Linked DNA regions of Homo sapiens: all the other regions are linked to region 3. The links are contacts of gene promoters, found by promoter capture Hi-C in human tissues and cell types (Jung and others, 2019). All regions are on one chromosome and are shown on one strand. The core of a region is centred on a gene start or on the middle of the fragment in contact, and the rest is flanking DNA. Distances in the headings are between cores, read along the strand shown.

What was found. The method cuts DNA at HindIII sites, captures the fragments that hold promoters and counts their contacts. A contact is called where the count stands out against the background at its distance.
Region 1: a contact is called between a fragment that was not itself captured here and the fragment with the promoter of DBX1 in region 3, in 2 of the 25 tissues and cell types used here (neural progenitor cells and thymus).
Region 2: a contact is called between a fragment that was not itself captured here and the fragment with the promoter of DBX1 in region 3, in 2 of the 25 tissues and cell types used here (mesendoderm cells and thymus).

What each region holds. Positions count from the first base shown.
Region 1 is chr11:20,280,565-20,285,350 of GRCh38, reverse strand. No RefSeq gene overlaps it. Among named protein-coding and RNA genes, the nearest start is that of HTATIP2, 81 kb to the left of the region's middle. The HindIII fragment of the contact is 4,025 bases long and covers 910-4,786 here.
Region 2 is chr11:20,259,450-20,263,907 of GRCh38, reverse strand. No RefSeq gene overlaps it. Among named protein-coding and RNA genes, the nearest start is that of DBX1, 100 kb to the right of the region's middle. The HindIII fragment of the contact is 4,702 bases long and covers 482-4,458 here.
Region 3 is chr11:20,158,514-20,162,820 of GRCh38, reverse strand. It overlaps DBX1 (developing brain homeobox 1), which reads left to right and starts at 2,346. Exons shown (of 4, transcript NM_001029865.4): 1 at 2,346-2,863; 2 at 3,529-3,630. The coding sequence starts at 2,497. RefSeq lists enhancers at 965-1,464, 1,465-1,966. The HindIII fragment of the contact is 9,910 bases long and covers 1-4,307 here.

The sequences.
Region 1 (4,786 bases), core at 1,673-4,172, 120 kb before region 3:
ATATGCCACCCCAAAATATACTTCTGTTAAAAGACAAAATTACAACAAATCTATCCTTATATTAAGTTTAGCCTAAAGCTGCCTCCTTACATATTTTAAGTTTGGCCTAGAGATTTACCCATATATAGTGAACTATAACCTAACTGGATGTGTAAACAGACTGTCATCTATACTTGTACCAATCACCAAGTTTTGGGTGGTCACAAGTGGCCAACTGTTCAAGCTGTGTTCAAATAAGGGAGATGTTGAGCTGTAACCAATCTGGCTGTTTCTGTAAGATGTGTGCAAGGCTTTAGGAGAGCCTAGCAGCCACCTATTTTATTATTTATTTATTTAGGAGACAGAGTGTCACTCTGGGGCCCAGGCTGGAGTGCAGTGGCATGATCTCGGCTCACTGCAACATCTGCCTCCCAGGTTCAAGCAATTATCCTGCCTCAGCCTCCTGAGTAGCTGGGACTACAGACATGAGCCATCACACCTGGCTGATTTTTGTATTTTTAGTAGAAATGGTGTTTCACCATGTTGGCCAGACTGGTTTTGAACTCCTGACCTCAGGTGATCTGCCCACCTTGGTCTCCTAAAGTGCTGGGATTACAGGAGTGAGCCACCACACCCAGCCTGTATCTGACTTCTGTTTTCTGTATGTCACTTTCCTTTTTCTGTCCACAAATGCTTTCCAACCACATGGCAGTGCAAAAGTCGCAGGGAAACAGGCTATCCAATTCAAGAATCCTTCTTTGCTCAATGAAACTGTTAAATTCAATTTAAGTTTTTTGTTTTGTTTTATGTTTTTTGTTTTTTAACAGATGGTGTCAGAAGTGCTGTTAGAAGTAGAACTTTCAGTGACCCCCAAAAGCATCAAGTGGCCAAATGAGGTACATGCCGGGCCCATTGTGTCACTGCTGTCTTGGATTCTGAAGCTCCATGACTTTGTGTTTTGGGCTATCCAAGTTTGTTTGAGCAAATTTTTTATCCAAACTTGGTTCAGAAGTCACAACTGAAACTGGACTGGGTCCAGGATTTGATCGAATCTGATAATTAACTGGTCTAGATCCAGATAGAGGGTTTAGATGTCTGACTGGGTTATAGACAGAAACTGGCAGCAAATGTCAGTACTGCAGGAGGTGTGGACTTCAGCTTTCAAAAATTTGCAGACATGTTTGTGTTCTATCCCCTTTGTTTCCTTTTCTTGCTTGCTTTAGGTAGGGAAAAAAATCACTAAGTTGATCAAAAGGGGATCCAAGAGCCAAAGGCAAGATTCAATGTGAAAATGGGATTTTTAGTTTCTGAAAAACTGAGTACTCCATCTTTTGGCTACATCTACCTATACACATATAAGTATTAGGCCCTGAAAGTAGCAAATGCTTATAAAATGGCAAAATCTTACTAAAGCTAATTTAAAATTATAGTGGAATTTTCCAAATGAACAACACTGTACTTTAAAAAATCCATTCAAAAATCATTGTTGGTGTGTCTGTATATCTACACATCTATGTATGTTATATGTATGTGATAATCCTTGGTAAATGAAGCTAGTTTTCGAATTGTTAGCAAACTAAAATATAAAAGGCTTCAAAATTGTCAGTTAAACATAATTGAGACATTTTTACCTGAGTCTACTGGTCAGACAGGTTTATTCTGTCTTAGCTACATGTTTTAAGGTCATAAAACTGATACTTCTGTAATATTTGTCACACTTGTTTGACTTGTCTGTGAGCTAAAGCTGTAAGAGTTGGCTGCTAGACTCTCCTAAAGCCTTGCACACATCTTGCTGTGAGCCTGTCTTAGGTTTGAGCCTCTAGATTTTTGAGGTCTGGACAGGTGACCATGCTGAGGCCTAGGGACATAGTCTCAACAGTTCAATCACCAGCTGCAAGGCAGAGCCACGCCCCACATGGCCCTATCCTCCCTGGTCCAACTTTGCCTCCTGGCCATTTTGGGATTGGTTGGATCCTCCAAGCAACTCTTCACCACTGTGTTCTCTGTCCTGAACTCTATATCTGGGACATAGAAGGGTCCTGCCTTTCATAGCTCTTCTGGGTGCCATGTGGTTACTTGGGACCCAGGAAAACTGGGAAAGACATTAGGGAGTTTATCTATGTCACAGTTTCAAAACTCTTCAGTAATTTAAAATCTTACAGTCATGTTAATAATTTAATAAATTAAGTAAAAATAATATAGTGTTTGAGTCATTTCTAAGTTAAAATACTGAAACATTAATTATTATTATTATATTACTTTTTGAGACAGAGTTTCACTCTGTTGCCCAAGCTGGAGTGTAGTGGCTCAATCCTGGCTCTCTACAACCTTTGTCTCCCAGGTTCAAGTGATTCTCCTGCCTCAGCTTTCAGAGTAGCTGAGATTACAGGCATGCACCACCACGCCTGGCTAACTTTTTTTGTATTTAGTAGAGACGGGGTTTCACCATGTTGATCAGGCTGGTCTCAAACTCCTCACCTCAAATGATCCACCCGCCTCTGCCTCCCAAAGTGTGGGATTACAGGCGTGAGCCACTGTGCCCAGCTGAAACATTAATTATTAAACATACGTTTAAGTTTATATACTTTGGCATTTTATTTTTATGTGGTATACAAAAGCTAAATATATTTAGATCTGTTAATAAAAAAATTGAGAAAGTATATCTTTTTAAAAATATGTAATATGGTTTTTATCTATAAATAATAATATAAAACAATTAAAACTTAAATCCTAGGTTTTCACTAGAAATTTGGGTTACTAGAGTTAAAATTGTAGTTAATATATGTAATTCAAACTACTAGATACTTTAAAATTCTGTACACAAAGTATATAAAAAGCAAAATATGTTTTTGGTGAGGAAAGTTGTAAAGGAATAAAAATGTGTGTTTGTTAAAAAAATAATTTTGTCTAGTTTAAAAGTTATTTAAAGGTAATTTTTAATTTCAAAAATAAAAAATATATAAATAAAACTAAAATATAAAAAGCTTAAAAAAGAAAAAAGAAAAATCTTGTAAGAAATTATAAAAGGTTTATGAAGATCTTATGTGGTTAAAAGCTGACTGAGATTGGATGATATATTTATAAATTTATTAAAATTAGCTTAATATTAATAATACATTAATACAAAAGTAAAATTTGGTTTTTACTTTTAAAAAACTTTATGTAGTATTAAGAAGAGACAGTAAAATACTTTCATTCAAATTTGCATAAACTACAAAAAAAGGTGGGGAGAGGGAGACAGATTCTATCTCATACCGTTTTTATTAGGTCTTTTGATTTTTTTGGAAAATAGTCTCCTCTTTATCAAAGAATAAAGGTTTTTGCTTTTTAAAAAAAAATAGTTGATTATCTGTTTGGCTAAGTGAATGACTTTTATTTTACAGTGACTTGTGATTCTTTTTTTTTTTTTTTTTTTTTTTTTGAGGCAGGGTTTCACTCCCATCACCCAGGCTCGAGTACAGTGGTGCAATCTCAGCTCACTACAATCTCCACATCCTGGGCTCAAGTAATTCTCCTGCCTCAGCCTCCTGAGTAGCTGGGACTATAGGTGTGCACCACCATGTCCAGCTAACTTTTGTATTTTTAGTAGAGACAAGGTTTCACAATGTTGGTCAGGCTGGTCTCCAACTCCTGACCTCAAGTGATCCACCTGCTTCGGCCTCCCAAAGTGCTGGGATTACAGGCATGAGCCACCACACCTGGCCTCTGTTTTGATTAAGTGTTTTAAACTTTTGATATATTTGACAGGCTTCCAAAAATCAAATTTCAAAATCAGAATTAAGGCTTTTCACCTCAAACTAACTTTGGGATGTTATGGAGGGCCCCTGCAGCATCTAAAAGAGATAATAAATAGGCTTATTAGATATGTTAAATTATATGGGAAACCTTGTCAAATAACAAATAATGGTTAACCTTCTTCAAGTTACATTTTTATGAATATGTTATTAATATATCTTTCAAAATTGCATGAGATTCCTAAAATTCTAGTAGGTCTTTATATGTTACCCATCATAACTATGGTTATTATGTTAAATTATTATAGGCCACAGAAATAACCAAATTTTCTTGTCAACTGTGTCTTTAACCATGACCATTCTAAGTCCTTTCCACAGTTAATTGCTGAATTCTGATGCATTTCCTGGAAGTTCTTTGCAAGCAAGTAAAATCCTAGAGTGTTGTGTCTTCAAGGAAGTTCATGGAAAGTATGGAAAGGACCCTGAGAAGCACTGCTGAATAGAAATTTTTGATAACTTTAGGATAATATCGTTTGGACTGGGTAAGAATTCCTGGAATTCTAATAAAGAGACTGGCTGGTTTATAAAACTGCTAACCCAAGCAGAACAAGAATTAGTTATATACCAAGGAAATACTTTGCCAGACTTTCATGCTAAATCAGCCAGTACTGAAATTGTTAAGATAGACAATTTGAGTGAATTCCATATCCAAGTTAAATTACCTATGATAACCCATTTAATAAACAGTTAAGCACCTGAATTGGAGAAACAAAATTGATATTTAAGAGGATATTTAAATATCAATTTAAGAGGATTTATATCCTTTTAAATATCAATATAGAAGCTTTCCCATGGAAGAAGGCTGATGCTATAACAATAGCTAAAAGATTATTAGAAAGTGTGATTCCCTCATAGGACACTCCTGGAAAAATCTCTAACAATAAAAGTACTTGTTTCACTGGACGAATTACAGAACAGTTAAATATGATATTATAGATACAATGGCATTAGGTAAAGCTAATTGAATCGACAGGATTGCCTTGGTCAAAGGTATTGCAGACTGATGACAATCA
Region 2 (4,458 bases), core at 1,583-4,082, 100 kb before region 3:
TGTTGCATAACCATCACTACCATCTAATTCCATATTTCCATCACTCCATAAAGAAACTCCATACCTATTAGCGGTCATTTCTCTTTCCCCACTGCCCCCAGCCTCTGGCCATTCCTAATCTACCGTCTGTCTCCATGGATTTGCCTATTCTGGGCATATAAATGAAATCATCCAACATGTGGCCTTTTGCATCTGGCTTCTTTCACTTTAGTATAATGTTTCCAAGGTTCATCCTTGCTGTAGCATGTATTAGTACTTCATTCTTTTTGTGCGTGAATAATATCCATTTATATCAATATATGGCATTTTATTTATCCATTCATCATGATTCATCTTTTGTGTTCTTTTTGCTTGATATAAGAAAATGATATCAACATATTTCACAGTAATTTTGTCTCTCAATTTTTCTCTATAGTTTCTGGTTAGTTGACCCATAAAAATGGTTAGTTATCCATTCATTGTGAGTGGATAAATGAAATGTTGTATATTCATGTAAATGGATATTATTGTTTTGTTTCTACTTTTTGGCTATTATGAATAATACTGCTATGAACATTTGTGTATAAGTTTTTGTGTGAACTTAGGTTTTTCAATTTTCTTGTGTATATACTCTTTTGTTTTTTATCTTTATTTTGAGACAGGGTCTCACTCTGTTGCCCAGGCTAGAGTGCAGTGGTGGGATCATGGCTCACTGCAGCCTCCACCTCCCAGGCCCAAGTGATCCTCCTGCTTCAGCCTCTGAGTCGCTGGGACCACAAGTATGTGCCACCACGCCCAGATGATTTTTTTATTTTTGTAGAGACAGTGTTTCCCTATGTTGCTTGGGCTGATCTCCAACTCCTGGGCTCAAGCGATCCTCCCACCTCTGCCCACAAAGTGCTGGGATTACAGGTGTGAGCCACCATGCCTGGCCTCTTTCATTTATTCTCAAACATAATGTTTCATGTAATTATTGGTTGTGTTTAAAAGCTGACCCCTTTAACATCATTAGTCTTGCTGTGGTACAACTTTTCCACATCTGATAAAGTTTGACATGCAGTGTTCTCATGTATGCCTCTTCCTAAATAGTCATTAGTTGGAGGGTTGTTTTTTTTTTTAACCCAATGATTATTTAGGAGAGTATTTTAAACTGCATATAAAACTTCTTTTAAAATTGCGTAGATCACTTAAAGCTATTTGGAATGTGTTGAGCTTTTCTTGGCAGCCTAGTGTATTTTCAATATTTTATAAGACCCATGGTTGCTTAAAAAATTTTGTTATATACATTTTTCTAATTTTATTCTGCAAATTGTTTTTTGTCCGGTTGATATAAGAAAATACTATCAATATCTTTCACAATAATTTTGTCTCTCAATTTTTCTTCATAGTTTACCTAATTTCAGCTTTATGCATATTCACCCTTGGTTAGTCGACGCATAGAAATCTTTGACTATTAATTCTTCCTTGTGAATTTTGTATTAATATAAATTATTCGATTTAATACTTTTTAAATTTTGAACACATGCTAAACAAGGGAATAAGCATGCTTTTGCTGATTATCTTTTCTTCCTAGATTACTTTTGCAATTGTTTTCAGTATGAAAACAACTATTTTTATGGAAATCATTCAGTGTTAATTCTAAATTTACTTTTGTCCCAGAATATTTCCTCTCATGTTCCAGTCAGGGTATCCAAAATGCTTCTATTATTTAGTCACTGGGGAAAAGGAGAGTGAAGTGATTATGTTTTGGGTAACTGCCTAAAAAAACGAAACCTAAAAATACTGAATGCTTATTGAACATTTCTACATGCTAACATCTGTTTTTAAAGCCCTATTTATATTAAATTATTTAATACTCACAGAAAGATGCTGACCTGACACAGTTAACCACTTCATTCCCCGACTCTGCACACCCGACCACCATCTCCCTGTCTTTGGCAGTGTCTCCTCCTCTGTCCCCTGCCGGGAAGTCATGTTCATATAACATGACATGGCCGCACTCACCACAGTGATGAGAATAGGGCTAGTGGGAATAGGGCTGGGCCTCTGACCCAAGGTAACAATCTGTAGATTAGGCTGAATCATTTATATATTTTGTCCAAGAGATGCTGAGACATTAGAGGGGTAGGGGCACTTGTATAGAAAGGCTATGTGGAATCTATACTGGGCAGCCATTTCCAACCACAGGAATGTTGATGACGGAGCCTGTGAGAGGCTGAACCAAATGCAAAGAGAGATGCAGTGTCAGAGGCCACGTGGATCCTGAGAGAGAGGACGATAGAGTTCCTACAAGGCTGAGCTATACTTCCTATATATTGTTACTGTGAGATATCCTTGCCTTCTTTTAATAATCCCTTTTAACTTTTACTGGTTTTGGTGTCCTCTTTCTTAGATGAGCCCTGATTAAAATAGAGCCAAGATTAAAATGCTATTTAACTAGAGAAGATATTGTGGCAAAGTATATTTTCCAAAGGCAGACACCATAATATCCCCCAAACCACATGCTCTTCTAGACCCTTGCTATTTCTCAGATAAGAGGTGGAATCTATGTCCTCTCCCATTGAGACTGGGTAGCTCTTAATAATTGTATTGCCCAATGCAGTATGGTGGAAATGGCACCATGTGACTTCCAAGGCTAGCTCATACAAGTGGATATTATGGTGTTTATCTTTGGAAAATACACATTGCCACACTATCTTACATAGTTAAGTAGGGACACTTGCTCTTGGAACCCAACACGTTGTTGTAAGGAAGCCCAAGTAGTTAGTGGAGAGGTCCATGTAGAGAGAAATGAGGGCTCCAGGCCCAAACCCAGCTGACGACCAGCATCAACTTGCCAGCCAAGTAAATGAGCAATTTTGAAAGTGTATCTTCTAGTCCTGAGTTAAGCTGTCCCTGTTAATACCACTGAAATCATAGATGGAGTTGCTCCTAACAAGTTCTGCTCTAATTGCAGATTCATGAGCAAAATAAATGATCACTGTTCTTTTAAGCCACTAAATTTGGTGGTGGAGGGGAGAGCTTTTTCCTGCTTTAGGAATATATAAGTGATATAAACACCACATTAAATTATAGTCATCAATTAATATATAGTTATTTCTTAGTGGGGATCTATAAAAATTGGACTTGGGGAAAGATGTCTTAAGATGGAGAGGCAGGGAACAAACAATGAGGAAAAGAGCCACCTTGCAGTCACCCATAGTCAGTGCATTTTGCCTTGAGGGCAGGTTACTAAAGAAATGGATGAAAAAAGGAAGAGAGGATGGAGGGGAGGACGACTTTGGTTTCCTTCCCTGTGCTCTGCAGAAATCTCATGAGTGGCTTGGAGGCAGTGGTGGAGGTGGTGATGGGAATGCATGAGATGCTGGCATGAACTGTAGAGTCCTCAGGAGTATATCCTGCTCTTTATTCCTTATGGTTTCCGCAGAGGCTGGCACAAAGCCAGCCACATAGCAGATGCTTAATACATATTTTACATTAAAGAAATAAATGAAAATTCCATGGTGTCCTGGTCAGAATCTTTGTTTATAAAGAATAAAAACTCCATCAAATTAACTTGGGTAAAAGTGAGTTTAGTGTGCAGATAAAGGTGAATTGCCTATAACCCAACTGTACAATGTAGAGCAGGGTCTTGTGAGAACAGAAAGGATGTTTATATGTTTCCCTCTGCCTGGAGCCATGTGCATCTCTTACCTTGGCTCCCTTCTCCATGTCTAATCAACTTTTCCTCTTTACAGGTTAGCTTCCTCTGCCAAGCTTTTAGTTTATTTTTTCCTAAAATTCTTCTTGCTTTATAGAACCTTGTTGACCACCCAACATGCCTACTGCTCTATGACCAAAACTAACCGGCTCTCTCAGCCTAAATTTCAAACTCCTGTAAGGGAGACTTTAATTGGCTAAGTTGGGGCTTCGTGTCCCCATGAGTCTAAGCAGCTGTGACCAGGCTGGAGCCATGCAGTTCTTTGGGCTTTCTCTTCTAGACTGTGAGTGAGACAGTTTTCTAAGATGGGCATTGTTGAGGAGGAAATAGTGAGGCTATGACAGGGTTAAGCACAAGAGTTAAGGGGCTTGCATTCCACCCTCCAGAGCTTTGCTACAATCTATGGTCCTATGAACATGCCTTTAGGATATAAAATACCACCATTGCCATAAAAATACCATCAACAAGATGCTTCCACTGCCCATCTGTTTTTCAAGCCACAATGTAAGCCTCAAGGAAGGAGATCAGGCTACAGGGTGAACCACACAGTCATGACTCATGTTGTCCAAGATTCCCTATGCTTCTAAAAATTAGCACCTCTGGACCCATGGGCACTCTCAGGCTAAACAATGCGATCCACAGGCAGCCAATGATTAAGATTCAGCGTTCCTCCCTGATGGAGAAGTGCAAATACCAATCCCCTTTCTCAAAGTTCCAGCATTCCAGTCTTCTAGTAACCTATATAGAAGCATACAGGAACCAGGATGTCAATTTGAATC
Region 3 (4,307 bases), core at 1,097-3,596:
TGGCATGAAGCCTGTCGACGGACAGGAAACGGTGAAAACTACACCCCGGCAAATGCCCCAACAGGGAAGGAGGAGCTGGGAAGGGCTCACGCTGGCTTCAAGTTCTTACCGTTCCCCCCTCCAAAAAAAAACAAAATCCAAGTTGATTTTGGCAAATATAGACTCTATTCTGATCATCCGGAAGACTTGGACAAGCGCTTCACCGGTAGGGAATCAAACATCCTGAAGCCCCCGGCGCGTCCTTCTGGGAACTGGCAATTGCCCAAGTCCTTAAGACTCGGGGAGAAAAAGGGGTGGGGGGCAGAGGGAAAGGGAGTGGGAGAAGGAGGGAGGTGGGCCTGAGGAAAAAAGTAAGGGAGAGGAAGGGAGAGAGCCAGTCTTATTGCAATGGGAAACTGTCTCATGGCAAGGTTAAAGTGCAGGTGTTCAGATAGCTTATGCTTTTCTCACCTATTTTATTGCAAACTTCAAAAAGGAACTTTTGACGTTCTTCGACAGATCTCCTTCTTCCGTTTCCAGGGGACTCCAATTAACTCCAGCAAGGCGCTTCCCATATTTAAATAGCCCCTTATTTAAAAGTTGTTTCTTTCCTGATTGGTTTTCTCCCGCTGCCCATGAGCATGAGCGGTCTTGGGCTCAGAAACTCCGCACTTACGTCATCTTCTAGCATTAATTCGCCTCTGGAGCTGGGCCCTAAATAACTTTTTAATTTGAATCAAGGGAGAGTTTTAGCCGGCTCCGTTTCTGGTTTAATGTGATATAAATCGCAGATGCACTTTTATTGAATGGTTAAAGCAGCGACATGGAGATCATCAACACAAAACACCCCGAACAAAACCATCGAGAGAAATAAAGCTGGTTAATAAGATTTTTGAGAAAGCTTTGTGTTAAAAAGCAAAAAGGAAAACCAGCTGAAGGTGACAGTTAGTTCATGGTTAATAGGATCAGGGCGGCCTGGCGGGGCTGCACACTTCTCTTTGGGGAGGTTCAGCCACACTAAAGAGATGAATGGGACATTTAACACATCTGTTATCTCGCCGAACAGAGAAATGGGGGGAATCGAGTCTTAGTACCACCTCAGCCCCAACCAGAGGAAAGCGAAGGGACTGTCTCCAGGAAGATTCTCCTTTGAAGCCCCACATTCAGGGGAGGCTTTCCCGGAGTGGACCAACATTCTTGGGAACCGCATCCCTTCCCTCTGGTTTTCACGCGTTTGTGCGTTGTAGTTAATTAAGAAGCTGCCAAACCTTGGGCCAAGTTAAGGGCCCCGCAAGTGGTAGGGTTCTCTCCAGACGACGTCTGGACCTTCGCTGCTATGGCTTAAAATGTCAGGGCTGTGAGTTTCAACTTAAACTGCCGAGAGCTCCCTGTGTTTGGAGAACGGCCAGCATAGCACTCACAGCCTTTGGATACCCTTGCCCGAGGCAGTTTCCGGTCAGCCTAAGCTCTTTGCAAGCGGAATCCTGCCGCTCGGCAGCCCAGCGCCGCTCTCCTCCGCTCCTCCCGCAAGGTGAGGTGCGGACAGCCCCTTGCAGAAACTCCTAGAGAAAATCGTTTTCCAAGTTGCTGGGAATTTGAAGGAGACTCGTTTTACTTTTCAGGTATCCACCAACGCTCAAACTCAACCAGTCTCCCGAAATGAAATAACTCCAGACCTCTCCCCACTCTTACGGACACACATCCAGTGGCCCCAAAGCATCCGTTTCCAAGTTTCCCTGAGTCGTCAGAATGGGACTTCTAACACTGATTTCACTCACCCCTACATTTGCTTTATGCTTCAGCTGGAGTAACGGATAGGGCTAGAGACCGGAAAGGGAGTATATTTTCATGTCCACTGACTTGAAACTTTTCATTGCCCTACCCCCACAAGAGGGAGGGCAACTTTGCTGATAGCCTGAAGATGTATTTCTATGAATATTTATTGATTTATTTTCCAGGCTTAGCAGGGGAGCTGCAAATAAATTTAGTGGGTTCTTTAAATAATTCCTTTTCTATGAGGCAAGATGTCATCTGAAACTTCTAAATAGGCATTTAATTAGCCCGGGTGTTGCTTCGGAACAAAAACCTTTGGCGAGAGCTTTGGGGGCGCACTGTATTGCAAAGAGGCGGTCGATATGCAAAATTGATGCGCGCGGGCCTTTGTTGCCGGCCCATTGTGCGGGCCATGCTTATGAAGACTAATCCAATCATAAATTGCACCCCTGCGCCAATCAGAGAGTCCAGAGCCTCCGGCGAATGAAGCTCGAGTGGAGAACTTTGTTGAACTTCATTGTCAGAGCTGTCACTTTTCAAAGTGCTTTAGCGGGCGGGCCACTATAAAACCATCACCTCGACGAGAGGACCACGGAGGACTCGCAGACGCCCAAGTGGGATTGTTACTTGGAGACGTTTGCTAAGCCCAAGAGAGAGGACACTGTGGGGGCGGGAGGGGCGGGAAGCGAGGCGTTTACCCTCCGGCCACTGAAAGAAGGGTTATTTCGCCCGCCCGCGCCTACCATGATGTTCCCCGGCCTCCTCGCGCCCCCCGCCGGGTACCCTAGCCTCCTGCGGCCCACGCCCACCTTGACGCTGCCCCAGTCCTTGCAGTCGGCATTTTCCGGCCACTCCAGCTTCCTGGTGGAGGATCTGATCCGCATCAGCCGACCCCCCGCCTACCTGCCCCGCAGCGTGCCCACCGCCAGCATGTCGCCGCCCAGGCAGGGGGCCCCCACGGCCCTCACCGACACGGGGGCCTCGGACCTGGGCTCCCCGGGTCCCGGCAGCCGACGGGGCGGCTCTCCGCCGACTGCCTTCTCCCCTGCCAGCGAGACGACGTTTCTGAAGTTTGGAGTGAACGCCATCCTCTCCTCGGGGCCCAGAACAGGTAAGCGAGGTCAGAACCCTAAGGGCCCATTCAGGTACTAGGCATGCGCGGAGTCATCCTGGCCTCAGTTTCCTCTAGCGAGCGGGCCCCCACACACACATCGGTGCACACACAATACGCACGAACTCTGAGACCCTACGTCAGGCAATGTGAGAATAGTCCAGTCAATTCCGGGGAAGAAAAGCCTCCAGGCTCGCCCCATCCTCGGAGTGAACTTGAGCACACGCAGTCGGAGACTGTGCGCAGTCATCTGGTGCAGTAACGCTGAGCGCACGCTCCTGGACGTCTGCGTTTCTGCCTTCGAGCTTCTAGGAGACAGTTTTTTTTTTTAAACTCAATATGATATATTTATTGGATTAGCAAATATTATAAATCTGCAATTTCTTTCCTCCCCACTCAGTCCTATCTCGTTAGTGCCTAGGATGGAGATTGGGGTAGAGTGGGACGGCGCAGAGAATTACGTTGGGGAGAAAGAAAAGAGTTTTACAGATAAGACAATGTTGGGAAGATTTATTTTACCCTGTCAACGTATAAGAAAGATGTCTTTGAAACCAGATGAAGGGCTAATTATATCGTGTGTTCAGTGTGCTATACAATAGGCAAGTACGTAATCAGATTCTTTCTGTCTCCCTCTCTCCTTCTGTCCCCCCTCCATCGCCCACCAGAAACATCCCCAGCCTTGCTCCAGAGCGTCCCTCCCAAGACCTTCGCCTTTCCCTACTTCGAAGGGTCTTTTCAGCCTTTCATCAGATCTTCTTATTTCCCAGGTAGGTCTCGTCCCCCTTCTTTGCGCGAGGCAGGGCGGCGCCCCAGCCCCGGCCCATCGCTCCCTGCTCCGAAGCCGTATTTCTCCGTCCACCCCTCGGGGTTATGCTCTGGTTCAGAGGTTGCGAGGCGTATAACATTCATGAATCCGTCGCGCCAATTTGATGCCCTATTGAGCACAAGCAGTGACTGCTTGACACTTTGCACCAATTCCCTGCTCTACAAATTAGCAGGAATTGTCATGGTCCCAATTTGAGGCGGTTCCCTTCCCGGCGAGGAGCTGTTGGCATCCCTTCACGCCGCCGTTTTCCCACAGAGTCAGTGCACTTGGCCACGATTCCCCACAAAGGTTTCAGCACCATGACCAATTGGTCAGCTCCTCCGGGCAGCCACACACAGACCGGCCCTAGTCCCTCCACGCCGCCGAGAGACACCTACCAGCCGGGGCTAATTTCTCTTTAAGACTCATTCAGGGCTTCGGGCTTTTCACAAGACCACATGGGGTGCCCTCTTGTGTGGGATGCCTAGGGTCGCCCAGGGGGAGGGGGATTAGATCCTCCCCCAATCCCAACCTATTTCCAGCCTGATTTCCAAACCCCTTCTCATACTCCTTTCCCACCCTGTATTATAAAATACCGTTGATCTTGCAAAATAAGAAGCAGTTAGAAGAAAGCCCATA